Linked DNA regions of Homo sapiens: region 2 is linked to region 1. The links are contacts of gene promoters, found by promoter capture Hi-C in blood cells and fetal thymus (Javierre and others, 2016). All regions are on one chromosome and are shown on one strand. Each heading gives the region's core, a stretch centred on a gene start or on the middle of the fragment in contact. The rest is flanking DNA. Distances are from core to core; before and after follow the strand shown.

Evidence for each region. The method cuts DNA at HindIII sites, captures the fragments that hold promoters and counts their contacts. A CHiCAGO score of 5 or more calls a contact.
Region 2: the fragment with the promoter of RAB9B here is called in contact with the fragment with the promoter of TMEM31 in region 1 in 1 of 17 cell types (M2 macrophages); the score reaches 6.4 in M2 macrophages.

The regions. Positions count from the first base shown.
Region 1 is chrX:103,709,173-103,713,094 of GRCh38, forward strand. TMEM31 (transmembrane protein 31) reads left to right here and starts at 1,737. Exons shown (of 3, transcript NM_182541.2): 1 at 1,737-1,904; 2 at 3,064-3,188. The coding sequence starts at 3,087. It also overlaps the pseudogene GLRA4. The HindIII fragment of the contact is 10,178 bases long and covers 1,136-3,922 here.
Region 2 is chrX:103,830,664-103,834,640 of GRCh38, forward strand. It overlaps RAB9B (RAB9B, member RAS oncogene family), which reads right to left and starts at 1,594. Exons shown (of 3, transcript NM_016370.4): 1 at 1,397-1,594. The HindIII fragment of the contact is 1,396 bases long and covers 967-2,362 here.

The DNA of each region.
Region 1 (3,922 bases), core at 487-2,986:
GACTAGAAACTGACCTGTCATCATAAAGACAGGCCTTGGTTCACCTCACATGTACTCTGTAATTCATTTTTACACTATTCTGACAAAGGAGGTTGTGCTGGACCCATTTTCGAGGTGAAGAACCAGAGGCAAACAAAATATTTTGCAATAATTTTAAAATGAGGGGAGTAAGTAAAATGGTTTTCTCCTTTGATTTCCAGTTCAGGGTCCCTCAGATGACCCTGTTGCCCAGTACTCACCCTGATCCCCTGAGCCCTACCCTGGCTAGAGGATGTAAGCAAAGGATGTTGGCAAAAAAGCTCTGAGGGGGAAAGTTGGATCCAACTGCTATTTCTGTTTCTATAGATCTAATTATTTTCCCTTTTCTCCAATCATAATAAATCTAAAGGGAGTTATTTGGACACATTTCCCAGGCTGGAAAAAGCCATTTCACACAGGAGAGAAAATATGGCCAACAGAGTAAGCTGGTCTTGGCTTTTTGTGACTTTAACATACTGCACCTGTTGTAGCTGGAGGAGCAAAGATGAATGGCTTGAAATCCAGGGGTGGGGCATCCTGCATTTGGGTATTCTCTATTTAGGCCAAATTCTGAGGGGTGTTTGTGTGTGGGGTGTGTGTGTGTGTGTGTGTGTGCTGGAAAGGAACATTGGAGCCTTAAATACCACTTTGTGGCTTACATGCCTATTAAAATAGAACTTTTTTTCCCCTGGCTATCTATAGGGGAGAAGGACTGAGAAGCTAGAGAGGGAAGATATCTCAAAACCACGCTAAGGAGGGAATGCACAGTGTAGGAGGTAAAGTGTGGAGATGGGAAAGAGTGATTTGTATTGAAGTGAGAGGGGCTAGAAAAAAAGGGATTAGAGAATGGGGAATGAAGAGGGTGCTGGAGGATGAAGAGAGGTGGGCAGGGTTCTGGGACCAAGCCCTTGAGAGGACTGGGCAGTATTTTGAAATTTCTTCCAGTTATCAAGTTATTCTATTGATCATGGCAAAGCTTTTGCTCTGTCCAGTTTGAAAGACAGTCCTCTCCAATCAGCCTGTAAAAGTTGGTGAGCTGGGTTACATGACTGCTGTGTCCAGAGCCTGGTGCTAAGGCCTGCTGAGGAGATGAAAAAGAGCTTCCCTTTCCTGGGGAAGCTTATGGACTAGCCGGGAAGACAGTGTAGGATTGCATGGGTAAAAAGTAAACCACTTTAGGCAGTGACATGAAAGGGGGCCACCATGCTATGGAGTTGTTGGTTGAGGAGAGAGTTGAGAAGAAAAGATGTGAATGGCTGGCTGGTTCCTAGAACACTCCTAACTGACTCTTGGCTAAGGGTTCCCTGGAGATCACATGGATTTTCTCCCTGCCCTCTCAGACTGAAGAATTCTTTTTCCCTAGCTGGAGCAGTAGGGCCCGGACAGAGGTTCTAGAAATGGATGAACTCTCCAACAATTTTTTCAGCCTGCTTGGTGCCTCCAAAATACCTGCTACAGGTCCTGGGATAACAGTGACTTTAGAAGACTCAAAAAAGGACATGACGAATGGCACGGGTTTGATTTTCAGTTTTATTCACGTTAATAATAATAATAATTCACGTTAAAAAAAGCCTCAGCCCACTTTTAGGCAGGCCCCAGAGTCCTAAGCAAGGCCCAGGCTGCTGTTGTAACTTTGTAATAATTGAGCACTGGTCATGACAGACTCCATTATGAGCTCAGGATCAGCCTATATATATGAGCAGGAGGGGACAGGCTGCAGGCAGTTGCGGGTTGCAGGAGTTCAGGAAAGGAGGTGGGACTAGAGTCAACCTGGAATAGCTCTACAGTAACAATGGCAGCCTTTTTGTTGCTGGGACATCCATACAGGCAACTTAGCTGGTGAAAGGACTCTGGATTGGTTGGCAGTCTGCTTTTTTTTTTCCAAGGTAGGCATTGAGAAGGCACCAAGATCAAAACTCCTATAAAGATAAGATCTTGGTACCTGCAGGCAGATTTGTTCGACACAGCTAAAGAGGGGGTGGGGACAGTTAGCTTAGAAAATGGAGTGTCCTGGCCGGGCGCGGGGGCTCACGCCTGTAATCTCAGCACTTTGCGAGGCCGAGGCGGGCGGATCACGAGGTCAGGATATCGAGACCATCCTGGCTAACACGGTGAAACCCTGTCTCTACTAAAAATACAGAAAATTAGCCGGGCGTGGTGGCGGGCGCCTGTAGTCCCAGCTACTCAGGAGGCTGACGCAGGAGAATGGCGTGAACCCGGGAGGCGGAGCTTGCAGTGAGCCCAGATCACGCCACTGCACTACAGCCTGGGCGACAGAGCGAGACTCCGTCTCAAAAAAAAAAAAAAAAAGAAAAAAGAAAATGGAGTGTCCTTTTTTCTTGCCCTTCTGCTAGGTGTATACACATATTTTTCTAACCCTTGGTATGGGTTAGGAAATGCTTTTAGGTTTCTTGAAGAATGAGTCCTACTCGAGGACATGTAGTTGTGGATTAGTCCACTAGAGGGCGTACTGCCCAGGGACCAACTAAAGGACTAAAGGGTAGGGACTGATAAATTCAAACCACTAGATGAGACAGGAGCCCTGCCCTCAGCAGAAAGGAACCTTAGCAAGGGACATGAAACCAAGGAGGTAGTTTGTGAGATATTTTTAGTGCGGACATACGGTAGGGGTGCCCCTGGAGCAGCTGAGGTGGGAGGTGGTGTGTTGAGGAGAGAACATTCCTTGTGCTAGTGTGGCCCAGACAAGCTAGAGTCAGGATTTTAAGAGTGGGTTCACAGCATTGTTTCCCATCCCCCAGAGGTCATTATGCTCTTGCCTCTCTGGCTTTAGAGCCTCCAGATTAGACAGAAAACATGGAGTCAGAGCTGAAGACAGACCAGAACTCTGTGTCTCTAATGGTTAAGCAACCAGTATGTAGCTCAGTTAAGCCTTTCAGCTTTGCTCATAATTGGACACTTGCTTCTGTGAGGCTGGCCCAGGCACCTCTGTTGTCATGACAACTTACCTAGCACCTATTGTCTGGGCAATTGGGGGTAAACTGCCTCTGTTGTCATGACGACAAGATTTCTTTTATATTTCCCCAGGTGATCACTTTACTGTAGAAGAAATGAGGTTAACAGAAAAGAGTGAGGGAGAACAACAACTCAAGCCCAACAACTCTAATGCACCCAATGAAGATCAAGAAGAAGAAATCCAACAGTCAGAACAGGCAAGTGGTGGTTTCTCAATTCCAACTTAGTTATGGGGGTCCTCTTATAATGCTCCCCTAGAAAGACACCAATGCCTGATTGTTGAATTCTTAACCACCAATTAGTGTATGACAACCTGGGCTACCTTCCTCCCGGTTGTGGGGGAGCAATTACTACTCAAAGCAATCTCTTTTTATTTATTTATTTATTTACTTATTTTTTGAGATGGAGTCTCACTCTGTTGCCCAGGCTGGAGTGCAGTGGTGTGATCTCAGCTCACTGCCAGCTTCAAGTGATTCTCCTGCCTCAGCCTCCTGAGTAGCTGGGATTACAGGTGCCCACCACCACACCGGCTAATTTTTGTATTTTTAGTAGAGACAGGGTTTCACCATGTTGGTCAGGCTGGTCTCGAACTCCTAACCTTGTGATCCACCCGCCTTGGCCTCCCAAAGTGCTGGGATTACAGGCGTGAGCCCCCGTGCCTGGCAAAGCAATCTCTTATTAGCTAACTTGGTAAGGTTCTACTACTAGCTAACATATCTTCAGTGCTTATTCTATGTCAAGCAGTGTGCCCATGCCCTTAATCAATCTACTATACTGACTTACAGAATCAAAGAGATTAAAGTAATCAAAGAGATTAAAATCAAAGAGATTAAAGTAATCAAAGAGATTAAAGTAATCAAAGAGATTAAAGTACTTAGCTTAACAGTGACCAGCTTAGTACTAGAATCCAGGTTTCTTTCTTTCTTTCTTT
Region 2 (3,977 bases), core at 344-2,843, 120 kb after region 1:
CCATAACCAATACTCCCCAGCTCTTTGTTCTTTAACACACTTGAAACCTTCTGAATCTGCAGTACCCACAAAGCCTTATTCAAATTATTGTATTTAGTTGGGAATGCTTAGAGGTGGGAGTGGAGGTGGGGGAGGAGGCAGTACAATGAAGAAAAAGAAGTTGAACCTTTGAAAATAGTACATTTTAGTATGATGATGGAGAGAAGAGAGGCAGAAAAGCAAATTCGCATCAGTTCAGTTGCCATGGAGTGGAATGATGCTCAAAATCAGTAGTGCAGATTGCTCGGAGGCAAGTCTTGAAAGGGATGTGTACTGCAGGGATCGATAGGGGAAGAGCAACTGGGGAGGGCTAGGCACTGGATGAGAGTGGCACTGTTGGAAGTCTGTACAGGGGAGGAGCCATGGTTGGACCTGTGGGGAAAGCCCATCTTGTGGCGACACACTGGTAAGGGCTACTCAACTCACTGTTGAATGCTGGCACAATAATTGGAAATATTGCACTGAAGAATTGGGCGCGGCTATATTTATGTAAAATTCAACACGGATGAGAAATGATTGAATGTTTGAGTGTGTTTCCAATACAACCCAATACTTGGCGTTGGTGCTGGTGGTGGGTGCTTCGTAGCGCGGAAACCCTCTGACGCACTGGATTCATTTTGCAGAGCTAACAAGTTATCAGCTACATCCATGCCGACTCCAAATGCCACAGCTGTCATGCCACTGAAACGCTATTCCTACATTCATGCCCACATTTATATCCTATATGCAACTCAAAGGGTCCAATGTGGAGTCCCACATCTAACCTTTCACTGCTCACAACGACAGCTCTAGGGCTATAAGCCCAAAGGCACACTAGATAGCAATCTGGCATCGTCCCCAGGACACTTCTTCCTCAGTAGACTGCCCAGGGACAGATAGGTAGATAAGGTTTGGATGACATCAAGCGAGCTGAACACAAGGAAAAAAAGCTTCCTTGGGAGACAAGAATGCTGGCATCTCTACGACAGGGGCACTGTTAGCATTACGGACCTAGAAAGTGAGATGTCACACATAGTCCCAACTACCTCCGACCCAGGTCCTCTCACCTCACCCCCAGCTCTTAGAGCTAGTCGGCTGTGGCGCATGCGCACTGAGCCACACCCGCTCCCCACGGAGCCCTGCGCCTCTCTGCTCGGCTCTGGCAGCAGCTCGGGATTACTCAGCAACGCCCCCCTGCACTGTCACCTGCCCCCGACTCCGACCTCGGGAGCGGCTCAGTCCCTTTTCTCAAGCTACGAGTGGTCCTGGGGATCAACTAGACTTTCCTTTCTCCCTCTTCTCACAGGCCCCCCACCTCCCGGCCTTCCGGGTCCTCCAGCCCCTAGCCCCTGTTCCTGCCCACGCACAGGCACCTTACCCAACACAATGGGAAGGAAACAGGAGAGGGCCGCGGGTGCCAGGCAGGTCAGCTCTGCGTGCCGGGAATCCGGCTCCTTAGAGTCACCGTCACTGCTCCTGCTGCCTCCTCGTCCTCAATGGGGCAGCAAGTGCGGCTTGGACCTCGGTGGCCTGACAGCTGCCGCTCGCGCCCGCCGCTGCCGCCGCGCAGCGTCTCGAGCCCGCGCCCGCGCCCGCCAGGGGAGGGGGCGGGGCCCGCGCCGCCTCCTCGTGCCCCTTTCTCGGCGGTGGGGACCCGGTGTAGCCGCCTCCCGCCCTCCATGTGGCAAGCGCTCCCTGGCTCGCCCACTCTTCTTTCATGCTCATCGTCCAACCCTGGTCTCCCTTGTCCTCCTTCTCCTCCCCTAGCCGATTAGTAGGCACAGCGGCAATAGACCGTCAAATATTGCTCTTCCACTTAGCTCCTCTGCAGCCTGGGCCTAAGCCCTCAAGCAGGGCTAGCCACTGCCCCACTTCCTGCAATTATCCTCTGATCTACCTCATTTATCCTAGCTCAAAATCCTTTAATTTTGCCAAGAGGGTAGTACATACACCCTCTTGTTTCAAATAACTCAGGAAAACACATGATCACAACACATTGCTAGGCCCTCTAACTGGCTACAGCTTATGAAATTTTCAGGCAATTAAAAAAAATGTCCACATCTGTAGCGCAGGCATAGAGGACACACTGCCCTTTACTCTTACCAGATACAGTTCTAGAGGGCCACACAGGGGGCATTACTTGAATTTCCCGGAATTGCTGCTGGGGCAGAATTTGATGTTTTAATTGTGCCTAGCCGACCAGCTAGTCTCTTTTTGTTGTTTTCTGTAGCCCTCTGGTACTTCCAACTAGTTTGTGATTTTCCCCCTGGAATTGAAGAAGGACAAAGCTCCTGAGGTCATTTAGCCTGCACTCCACCTCTCTGTCAGGCAGCTCCATCTCTGAAGCTTCCCCATTGCCCGAAACCCTGTGACCTTGTGGCACAGGCCCTCACTCATCTCATGACCCCGTCCAGGCCCTCACACATACCCGCTACTTCCATCTAGGCCACTCTTCCTCTGTCTCTTGACAAGGCAATCGTGCAATCAATCTCCGCAGGCCCCAGCTTAAATGTCACTTCTCAGGATAACCTTTCTCGATAATCTCAGAATAGAGATGGTGCCCCAGTTTATACTCTTGTAGCCTCCTGTAACTTGCTGTATTTTTCCTTCATAACACTTACCCATTTTTGGTGGTACATTTAAGTGTATGATTATTTGGTTGACAGCTGTCTTCCCTACTAAACTATAGTGGGGAAGGACTATGAGGTCAAGGACAACGTTTGTGTTCACCACCGTATGCACAGAGCCTAGGGCAATGCTTGCTGCATAGGACATGCTCAGAAAATATTTGCTGAATATGAATGAATGCTGTATCACTAATAGTTGTTATATTTAAATAAAATAAATTGATGTAACTGAATCTCATGTGCTCCTATTTAAACCAACCCCGTTCCCCACACATACACTCTAAAACACTCTTCTGATGAAGACGAGATTCACACAATCCTCTAAATCAAATTTTCCGCATACATTTTAGTCTATTAAAAAACTATTGAGCATGGGCCCCAACATATGTATAAGGATTTATAGATTATATACATGTACTACTGTACATGTATACATTACACATTACTTTAAACATACATTTTAATGAGTAAACATTAAAATACTCCACAGAAATTTTAAAAGAATGAGAAAAATAAATATATTGATGTTCCAATGTTTTCTTTTTGCACCTCAATAAATAGTTTTGTGAAATGCTTTAAATAACAGTCCTTCATATTAGAGTAACTCGTCTTTAGGTGTAACAATCTAGACTACTTTTTCATTTTCTCATAGATGCCATTTTCCAACAGTTTAAAAATCTCTGAGAAACCCCCAAACCAACTGGCAAGTTTTAAGGATCTTTTAGTTTCTAAGCTACCTCGTTCTGTAGTCAGGATCTCACAACTGCTGAAAGCACCACACGTTTAGTGAATGTTGGAACACCTAAAGGTAAGAAAAATCCTTTGTTAGACCAAAGATTCCTACATGTAAATCCTATATTAAAAGAGTCTCTAGAGGCCACTTAAAAAGCAGCTACTATTATCTTTCTAGAATGGAAGCAACATGACTAACACTAGTTGTGAGGGATCAGCAAAAATGGACAGCACGAAGATTCAAAGTAACAGCTGTGGATGGTTTTGTGGCTCTCAGATGGGACTATTCCCAATGGTCAATCATTGAGATCTGTCAAATAGTGTCCTTCACACACAATAAAAATTCTATTTTTATAACACAGTTACACACACACACACACACACACAATAGAATCATAGTGTAGTCGGTAGATAGAAGGCCAAACCAAGATTGCGTTTGGATACCAGAGATAGGGTTACCTTCAGAGTCACACACACACACACACACACACACACACATACGCTCTTCAACATTCAATGAACAAGATCTCCCAAAGTCTCATCCTGATCAGTTTGAAATACATTGACCTGAGCTTCAGGAAGACATAATTGTAATGTGAT